3 separate regions of the Homo sapiens genome follow, and regions 2 and 3 are each linked to region 1. Evidence: promoter capture Hi-C in 16 types of primary human blood cells and fetal thymus (Javierre and others, 2016). All regions are on one chromosome and are shown on one strand. Each heading gives the region's core, a stretch centred on a gene start or on the middle of the fragment in contact. The rest is flanking DNA. Distances are from core to core; before and after follow the strand shown. Region 1 holds the start of TMSB10 (thymosin beta 10). Region 2 overlaps DNAH6 (dynein axonemal heavy chain 6). Region 3 overlaps TRABD2A (TraB domain containing 2A).

The links. The method cuts DNA at HindIII sites, captures the fragments that hold promoters and counts their contacts. A CHiCAGO score of 5 or more calls a contact.
Region 2: a fragment that was not itself captured here is called in contact with the fragment with the promoter of TMSB10 in region 1 in 3 of 17 cell types (non-activated CD4 T cells, naive CD8 T cells and naive CD4 T cells); the score reaches 9.9 in non-activated CD4 T cells.
Region 3: a fragment that was not itself captured here is called in contact with the fragment with the promoter of TMSB10 in region 1 in 1 of 17 cell types (non-activated CD4 T cells); the score reaches 7.5 in non-activated CD4 T cells.

The regions. Positions count from the first base shown.
Region 1 is chr2:84,903,924-84,907,213 of GRCh38, forward strand. TMSB10 (thymosin beta 10) reads left to right here and starts at 1,733. Exons shown (of 3, transcript NM_021103.4): 1 at 1,733-1,795; 2 at 2,080-2,194; 3 at 2,466-2,748. The coding sequence starts at 2,095. The coding sequence ends at 2,500. It overlaps LOC105374836 (a long non-coding RNA gene), which reads right to left and starts at 3,098. Exons shown (of 2, transcript XR_940308.3): 1 at 2,740-3,098. RefSeq lists a silencer at 1,490-2,029 and enhancers at 1,996-3,195, 3,000-3,059. The HindIII fragment of the contact is 2,703 bases long and covers 1-2,352 here.
Region 2 is chr2:84,779,417-84,782,706 of GRCh38, forward strand. It overlaps DNAH6 (dynein axonemal heavy chain 6), which reads left to right. Exons shown (of 77, transcript NM_001370.2): 65 at 2,077-2,237. Among named protein-coding and RNA genes, the nearest start is that of TRABD2A, 100 kb to the right of the region's middle. The HindIII fragment of the contact is 2,520 bases long and covers 477-2,996 here.
Region 3 is chr2:84,839,047-84,842,336 of GRCh38, forward strand. TRABD2A (TraB domain containing 2A) reads right to left here. Exons shown (of 7, transcript NM_001277053.2): 3 at 2,815-2,961; 4 at 103-277. Among named protein-coding and RNA genes, the nearest start is that of TRABD2A, 40 kb to the right of the region's middle. The HindIII fragment of the contact is 1,468 bases long and covers 1,103-2,570 here.

The sequences.
Region 1 (3,290 bases), core at 483-2,982:
ACTGCACTCCAGCCGGGGCAACAGAGTGAGATCCGTCTCAAAAAAGAAAAAAAAAAAAAAAAAAAAGCTGCAGTGACCTGTGATCCCACCGCTGCACAGAGACCCTGCTAAAAAAAAAAAAAGAAAGAAAAAGTATCCACTCTATGCCTCTTCTTTATCTCACCTCAGTTTATGCCAAGGCTATTTTATAGATGAAGAAACTAAGGAAAAGATTTGCCCAAGGTCACACAAGCCTATGCTCTCTTCCCACTGTTCCAAACTGAAGGAACGTGAGAAAAGCAGGTAAAATCAGGAGGGGAGAAGCAGGGAGTGGTGCTCAGGCTTGTAATCCCAGCACTTTGGGAGGTTAAGGCAGGCAGATGGCTTGAGCCCAGAAGTTCGAGACCAGCCTGGGCAACATGGTGAAATCTCGTCTCTACAAAAAGAACACAAAAGATTTGCCGCTAGTGGTGGTGCACGCCCGCAGTCCCAACTGCTCAGGAGGCTGAGGTGGAAGAATCACTTGAACCGGGGAAGTCCAGGCTGCCATAAGCCGTGATCACACCACTGCACTCCAGCCTGGGTGACAGAGTGAGACCCTGTCTCAAAAAAAGTAAATAAATAAAATCAGGACCGAATTTAGGATGTCACCACCAAATCCCACTTTAAAGAGCTCGGTAATACTTCACACTTAAAAAAGGAAAGGTCAGGACAAATAAAAGAATGACCAGCCTTAACTCCGGGGCTGGTAATTTATGGAACTTATTACCTAACGGTGTTGCACAGGCTGAAAATACAACTTTTCTAAGAAAGATGTGAATAATTGCAGTATACCACTCCTACAATGGGTTAATAAGAAAAACAAGAACGTTTGTAGGCATGTGGGTCTCTATTATCCTCAAGGTTAACTTCAAGGAGGAAAACCGCACCCGCTGATACAGTGTTTCTAGGAGCTCGACGAGAAAAGGCAAACTGCGAGCCTTCTCGGGACGCCCTGTTCCCACCACAGCCCTTCACACAATGCGTCTAACAGCATTTAAGGAACACCCGCCACGCCAACGATCCTGCTGGAACCGCCCAGTTCAGGGAACAGGGGACGACTGACCAGAAGGCAACCGCCCCCAACCTGAGCAAAGAGCGCTGGAAACCTATTCCCCCCTCCCCCTACACCCCCCCGCCCCCCGCTCCACTACGGGACCCTCGGCTCGAATTCTTTTAGTGCAGGACCACCTTAGGACTCAGCCTCCCTAAGGAGAGGAAAAGTGGGGGAGGGAAGGGGACTCTGGAGGAGCAAAAGCAAGAGGCCTGGGGGCGACTGGGGTGGGGCGTCTCCTAGAGCGAGGATTGCTGCAGAGTGCGCGTGCACGCCCGCACATCCACACCCACGGCTACACATCATATCTGCACACGCACAAAACCACACACCCTCCCACGCCGGTCCCATATCCTTTCTGCGGGGTGAGCAGCAGATTCCCGGAAAGGGGGAAATGTAGCCGCAAAAGCAAAGCCGGGGGCCTGGCGCCCACTCTGGCGGCGACTACAGCCCCCACGCTGGGCACACTGCGAGCTGGGGGTGCCCGGCGCGGGAGAAGCCGCGCCCAGCCGGGCTGGTAGCCCAGCGGGGGGCGCGGCAGGGCGAGGAGCAGCCCGCGCTGCTCCCGCCCCTCGGGTGCCAGCACCGCCCCTGCTGCGGCGGGTGAGGGGCGGGGCGGGGCGCGGCGTATATAAGGCTAGGGGCGGGCGCCGCTCTTTTGTTTCTTGCTGCAGCAACGCGAGTGGGAGCACCAGGATCTCGGGCTCGGAACGAGACTGCACGGTGAGTGCGGCGCCGGGGCGGGGGGCCCACCCAGGGTGTGGTCGGATCCGGTGCACCGGGCGGGCGCGCCGCAACCGCGACAGGCGCCCTTCTCGGACCGGACGCAGGGGCCGGCGACCACGCCCTGGGACCGAGAAGAGGGGTGCGGGACGCGCCCAGATCCTCGGCCTTGGGGCTGCTCGGCACGCCTTGGCGCGAGTGCCACGTCGAGAGGCGTCGGCGGGGAGCGCGGAAGGGGACGCTGGCCCCCAGGCCCAGGTCAAGCGCCTTGGTTTGCCCACTAGGATTGTTTTAAGAAAATGGCAGACAAACCAGACATGGGGGAAATCGCCAGCTTCGATAAGGCCAAGCTGAAGAAAACGGAGACGCAGGAGAAGAACACCCTGCCGACCAAAGAGAGTGAGTGTGCCTCGGTCTCCCGCGCCCCAGCCCAGCCCCTCACCCTGCTCTTCCTTGCAAACCCACTCCTCCACCCCCCACCCCGCCGTTGTCCCCGGTGTGGGCGGCCCCGGCCACTCTTTCAGTTTCACAAAGCGCCTTGTTTCTCCCCAGCCCCAAGCTTCCTTCTAAATCCCCACACCTCGTGGGTGCCTCGCCCACACCGGGAAGCACCTCGGTTGCGGGTGGGGGTTGCAGCTCCCCTCCAGCGCCCGCTTCCCGCTCTCCACAGCCATTGAGCAGGAGAAGCGGAGTGAAATTTCCTAAGATCCTGGAGGATTTCCTACCCCCGTCCTCTTCGAGACCCCAGTCGTGATGTGGAGGAAGAGCCACCTGCAAGATGGACACGAGCCACAAGCTGCACTGTGAACCTGGGCACTCCGCGCCGATGCCACCGGCCTGTGGGTCTCTGAAGGGACCCCCCCCCAATCGGACTGCCAAATTCTCCGGTTTGCCCCGGGATATTATAGAAAATTATTTGTATGAATAATGAAAATAAAACACACCTCGTGGCATGGCTGGCGTGGTCTGAGTCTTTTAGTTGAGTATGCGTGGGCAGTGCCACTGCAGCAAAGCCCCTCGATGGAGTAGAGTTCCTGCCGCAAAGGGGAGGAGGTGGGTCGCAGAATGGGCTGACTCGGAGGGAGTTTTTAATTTTGGCTTTACCTGCTTCTCCGTAAGATTTCATGACTTGTTAGCCACTTAACTCTTGCTCGTAAGCAATCTGTGTAAAATTTAACCCCACTTTGTCCCCAGGTTGCGTTGGAAAATGCTTTTTCAAAAGAGCAAGGTTTGCTTTTGATAAGCTTCGAAAGCCCCACTGTTTCCCTCTGGCCTCCTCCTAGCTGACTCAGAAGGGAACACTGATTTTAAAGAAAGAAAAGACAATCTGGAATGTTGGAAATTGGGTGAGGTCACAAAGTCTCCGGAAGCCTTTCTTCGGGAGCTTAAAACAAAGGCGGGATCTAGGGATACAGCAACGGGAACGTCAGAACTAGAAGAACCAACACTAGAACTGGGGGAGGGGAGGGGGGAAGAGCTTTTGTCTTTTAACCCT
Region 2 (3,290 bases), core at 487-2,986, 120 kb before region 1:
TGTTGTCAATTTAGTCTTATTTCTACAATATAAGAATAGTCACTTCCTCTTCTCTTGTTTTCCTTTTGCATGATAGATCTTTCTCCACCCCTTTACTTTGAGCCTATTGGTTTTGTTGCATGACAAATGGGTCTCTTGAAGATAGATGGTTGGGTCTTATTTTTTTATCCAACTTGCTACTCTGTGCCTGTTAAATGGGGTGTTTAGACCACTTATATCCAAGGTTAATATTGATATGTAAGGTTTTGATCCTATTGTGATGTTTTTAGCTGGTTGCTTTGTAGTCTTGATTGTGTAGTTGCTTTATAGAGTCTATGGGCTCTGGACTTAAGTGTGTCTTTGTGGTAGCAGGTATCACTCCTTCATTTCCGTGTTTAGAGCTCTTTTATGAATCTTTTGTAACGCTAGTCTAGTGGTAAAGAATTGCCTTAGCAATTGCTTATCTGGAAAAGCTTTTATTTCTCCTTTGCTTATGAAGCTTAGTCTGACAGGATATGAAATTGTTGGTTGGAATTTCTTTTCTTTAAGAATGCTGAATATAGTTCTGTTATCTCTTCTGGCTTGTAATGTTTTTGCTGAGAAGTCTGCTGTTAGCCTGATAGGACGACCTTTGTAAGGGATCTGACCTTTTCCTCTAGCTGCCTTTAAGAATTTTTTTTTTCACATTGATCATGGAAAGTTTGATGACTATGTGTCTTGGGGATGGTCATCTTATATAGTATCTCCCAGGGTTTCTCTGAATTTCTTGAAATTGCATGTCAACCTCCCTAGCAATATTGGGAAAACTGTCATGGACTATATTCTCAAATATGTTACCCGAGTTGTTTACCTTTTCTCCTGTCTCAGGAATGCCAGTATGGCATAGGTTTTATCTATTTGCATAATCTCATATTTCTCATAGCCTTTGTCCATTTTTTAAATTCTTTTTTCTTTATTTTTGCCTAACTGGGTTGTTTTGAGGGGACAGTCTTTGAGCTCTGAAATTCGTTTTTTGACTTGGCCTAGTATGTTGTTAATGCTTCCAATTGTATTTTGAAACTCCTGTGGTGAATTTTTCAATTCCAGGAGTTCAGTTTTGTTTTTTCTTCATATAGCTATGTCATCTTTCAACTCTTGGATCATTTTACTGGCTTCTTTGGACTGGATTTCAACTTTCTGTTAGATCTCATTGAGTTTCATTGCCATCCAGGTTCTGAATTCTATGTCTGTCATTTCAGACATTTCAATCTGGTTAGATACATTGCAATCTTTTAGAGGTAAGGAAACACTGATTTTTTGAATTGCCAGAATTCTTTTGCTGATTCCTAATTATCCAAGGGGGCTAGTGTTTATCATTTTCAAGTTTCTGTCATTTCGTTGAGGCTTTTTTTTTTGTATTCCTGTTTTCCTTTGAGGGCTTGACTGTGGTGTATGTTGTGTATAGTTCATTGGCTTTGTTTCTGGGTGCTTTCAGAGAGCCAACACTTTGCACAGGTTTCTTAGTTGTAGCTAGTTTCCCACATTGGCTTTCACAGATGTTGTGTGATTAATCAATGGCATTAGAATTCAAAATTGTTTTTGCCTTTTGGGATAAGGAGGGGTACTGTTTTTTGACCTAGGTGGTGGTACATGTGCACATTTGCGTTGTGAGAATTCATTGACCCATACACTAATAATATGTATTTTTCTGTATATGTTAGACTTTAATTTTTTAAGTGTTTAAAAACTGATCTATAGTGTTGTTAGAAGTTAGGATAATGATTACCTGTGGGAAGAAGGAAGGGGAAATCATTGCGGTGGAGAGAGGCATGAGAGAAATGTCTCTAGTGTATCAGCACAGGTCTCTTCTCAACCGCAGGTATTGATTTGTGATCATTTGTAGAGCTGTATATTCGGTTTTTGCACTTTTCTATGTGGGTCATGGTAAAAATATTTTTAAAAACAAGAAATAAGGAAAACATACTTGTACTCCTATTGGAATGAGGATTCAAAATGTTTATATATCCTAAGCAAGAGTCTACTGTATTTATATTTCTTCATATTGATTTTGCTTTAAAATAGCATAAGATGATATTGTGTTCTTGCTGTTCAATTCAGGGTGCAGTCAATTTCACTGGGGCAAGGACAAGGACCTATTGCTGAAAAAATGGTCAAGGATGCAATGAAATCAGGAAACTGGGTATTTTTGCAAAATTGCCATCTTGCTGTTTCTTGGATGTTGGCAATGGAAGAGCTCATTAAAACCTTCACAGATCCAGGTATGTTGAGCATATAGCCCTTGCATAATAATCACATTTTTATGTAACCTTTTCTTGTTGAATTCATTCCTTATAGTAATTCATTATTGTAGGCACTGTGTTTCCATATATGAAAGAGGAGAAATTTGAGGCCTAGACAGATTTAGCTAATTTACACAACCAGGGTTTGATAAAAGGCCTTCAGAATTCCAAGTTGAGGCTAGGATCCACTGGATCATTTCTGTTTCTTATTGCCTTCTATGAGAGGTCATTTGAATTTGAAATATATTACTTATAGGCATAATAAAAAGAAAAATATACTTAGGACAAACAAAGGAAATTAAATCCTTCCCTATAAAATGAGAAATGTAAAGGAACAGAGTTCAAATTACCACCAATTCCCTTAGAGTAGTGTTTTACCACCTTTTATCTTCTGTAACCCGCATGGCAACTAACCTTTACATGTGCCTCAGAGCCACACCTAACCCATGGGCGTGCTCAGCATTACTCATAGTTGCTAGCACTAGTTTTATCTCACCACTTTTTTGCCTACTCAAGAAAGTGTAACGGGCTGCAAAGAGAGGAAGTGGAATTAGAATCTACTCATTTTAAAGTGTTACTATAAAAATAATCAAAACCTCAGGAACTATTTTATTGGTAACAAATTGTGTGGGTCCCACTCTACCACTCTGCTGTGAAGCCCTGGGAGAGAACCTCCAGGCAAGCATATCCAGAGAGAGCCCTTTCTCTGAGGCCTTTATTTGTGCCCTCCCTACAGAAAGCTTTCTGGAAAGGTGAAAGCTCTGCAGATGATCTTGCAAATCACTTTATTTAGTGCTGCTTATTAAGGTGAAGAGCTGCTCCTTTACAGAGTCCCCAGTCTGCTCTGGTCACTGAGCCAGCTCAGGGTTTAGCAGCCTTCCCCTAAAAGCCCTTCACTTCCTGGCCCCCTGCCCTCACCCACAAGCCTTCTGCAGGCTGCTTCTGACAAAGGTAAGGACTCATTTTTATCCACCATTCAGAATCTCCACTATTTCCACTCTTTTGCTGTCAAATAAGAGAGGGCCTGCTTCC
Region 3 (3,290 bases), core at 587-3,086, 65 kb before region 1:
TTCATGACTAACACAGGCCCTAAGCAGGGGCTCACCTCAACATTCCCTTCTTGGGAGAAGCCTCAGATTTCAGAGGCTAATCAGAGGTGACCCACTACTCACCAGCTCCAAAGGCAAAGAAGAAGCCTTTGTCAGGGAACTCCTCCAAAAGGGCCTTCACCCGCTTCCCTATTCTCTCATTCCGCTTGTAGATCAGCTCCCGGCGTAAGTAGCTGTCAATCTCCTGAGCAGTGATGCGCTCCTGAGGTGGTAGCGTGGCATTAATAAAATTGGGAACCTCCACCAAAATAAAGAGAAAAAAAAATAAGGGGCAACAGAGTTATTAACAAAGTTACTTCATTGGAGCATCAAATCCCCCAACCTAGATGGTCAAGACGTTGTCAAGAGAAGAGTGACACCATTCTTGGAGTTTCCTGTCTGCTATGTTTCCCACTCTATCACATTCCCTGTAACCAAAGTGAAAAAAATATTAAGTGAAGTGCATTGAATGAACTCTTACACTATTTACAACTGCACTTCTGTTTTAGTTAAATGGCTCTGTCTGATGCCGTGTGTTTATAAAAAAAAAAAAAGGACACTGTCTTTGCACAGTACATCCATAGTTTTAACTTGTGTGATTCATACATGCTTTTCTTATAAAAATAGTCTTATATAGTTACATATTTTAGATTCTATTACCGAAAACATGAAATTTGTATAAACACTTAAATGTTTTATAAATCCTCTACTTTACATTTTCATTATTTCTCCACTTCCTATTTCTCTCTCTTGCTTTCCCCAATGTTCTTTGCCCTCCTGGCAAATATTTCACTGATTCTGGTATACATGTTAGCCAGTTTCAGTATTTTGGCTAATAACAGGATGAAAGTGCATCAAAATTGTGACAATCAGCGTGGTTCTTGCAGCCCAGGAGCTACAGGTAAGGCTGGCACTCTGTGTTTTCTCCCCACCCCCTCAGCTGTCTGGCTTCCCAAACCTCAGCCTCCCACTCCTCCCCCTGGGTGCATGCTCTCTCCTCCACCCAGGGACTTAACAATGTTACCCATTATCTTGGTCAGTATCTACCCTGCCTGCTGCTGCTGCTTCCAGTAGCCTCTCAAAAAGCTTTCCAAAGTCCTCAGACTCTGTGACAGCATTAACTTCCATCTTATGGATAACAGATCTCCTTTTGCGACGGCCTCGAAATGATATTCTTTCATTTTCAAATCGACAGCCTTCATCTTCTACTCTGTCATCTTTTTTTTTAATCATGTCATTTATGTAAGATCCCCTGCCCATTTCCCAAAATCTCTTCTCTTCAGCAGAGCCCCCCTCTCTACCAGCCTCTCTACAGAGGCAGCGTCAGATACACAGGGTGACCTCCCTCTGACATCCTGCTCCACCTTCTAAATTCCAAACATCACCCAAAGCCTGCACCACTCCCTGCTGGCCAGCCTGGCCCTCACTCACAGTGACAGCACATTCCCTGACCTCCTGTAGGGGCCCTGTGGGCAGAACAGATATGGGAAAGCCACAGGAGAAAAATGCATAAGACATCTGTATTATCTGCTCCATCAGCCTCACCATTTGCCCACGTAATGACCAAATCCTCCGCCCACATTAACTTTTTTCTGCTGCTTCAAATGTCAATTTCCCAATTGATCTTGACTTTTCTCCCCCCTTCCCTACCCTCAGCAAGAGTGCAGGTAAGATTTATCACCACCACCAACTCTATTTTTCCTTCTTTAATGTGTTTCTTGTTCTCCCTTTCCTCCTGCTTCACTTTGTCTCAATTTGACTTTTTTTTCCTCTAGATTTTTGGGGATGCTCCTTACATCTTTTGAGGCTTCTGTCATTAATGAAATGTCACCTTTCTGGGCTGATGCTGCACTCAGCCTGTACTGTCCTTCTCCCCATTGCTGCTATTCCTCCTTCAGCTCTCATGTTCACACATGTCTCCTTATGGTTGGGTCCCCAGATTTAACATAGACCTGTACAGCATCACCCACACCCACTAGCTCCTGTCTCCCCTCTCCAGTGTCTTCATGCATGTGGACACCAGTCCTGGGTGGGGGAAACAACACACTCCCCTACCTCAGAAGTTTAGCTGGTGTTTGCTATTTGCATGTAGTCCTAGAGAGGAGGCGAAGGCACCATGGCTTGTCCCATGGGAAGCCTGTTGATAAAAGCATAACAAAGATCCGTACCACTTCCCTCCTGGAAGGAGACCATGATCTTCTGAGGCTGAGCAGCTACTTCCTTCCACTCAATGGCCCACAGGTAAGGCCTGAGCTGGGCAAACACTCAATCCACCAGCTCAGCCACACTCATCCTGCAATACCACAGGATGCAATGATCCACGTCTGCAAATGCTAGCAGCCTTCCCAGCTCTGATGCCCTAAGCCTGTAAGCATTCTGTGAATACACAGCTATATCATGTTCACATGTTCCTAGAGGCCACTGAAGCTGCAGTCAAAGTTCTGCCCCATCATTTTGCAAAAGTATGACCTAAGTCAGCCAGGAGGCCATCAGACTCAGAACCCTTCCCTTCCTCAAGGCTGGTTCATGTGGCCTACTGTTAAATCCTTTGAAGCTTCATCCTTTGGCTGGAATACTGGAATTAACCCTCATCAATGCCCCTCTCTGTTCTTACAAGGTTTGTAAAGCTTTCATTCGCTGTAGTGCCTCATTCAATGACATCTAAATCTGCCCACTTTATTTCTAGAGCCCTCATGACCTCAATCCTTTGTACACAGGATGTACATGTTGCCAGGTAATGTTTTTATTCCTATAATTAAATGTGTGCTGAGCTTGGCAGGGGGAAAGGGTGCTCACCTGGGAGCTGTCATGGCTGAGGATGACGGAGCTGAGGTCCCCGCAGTTATAGTGTTTGATGAGATCCTCCGTCGTGTAGGGGATCTGAAGACTGCCTGCTCGCAGGCTTTCCTGCTGCAGGAGGGTCTGGTTCAAAGCAAAGATGACCTAAAAGAAAGGTCTCTTTTAAGTTCACTAACAAGGCAACTGTTTGCTGCCATCTTATTTCTTTTGTCCATGGCTGGAAATACCTTCACCTTTGTGCTCGTTATGTAAGGACGTGGATAGTGCTACTTAAAAAAGGGAACACAAATCCCTGGACAGCATCCAAAGAAAAGGAGAACAGTCCTTCCCAAATCAGCCCCAATCAGACACACCTAGGGAACTGCCTTATGGAGGACACAGACAACCTGGAACTCTTCCATGAGTGTGACCAAGAGGTGAGGGAACCCAAGAGCTGGCTTGTGAGGAATAGAAGCTAGGAGGTGGGGCAGCGA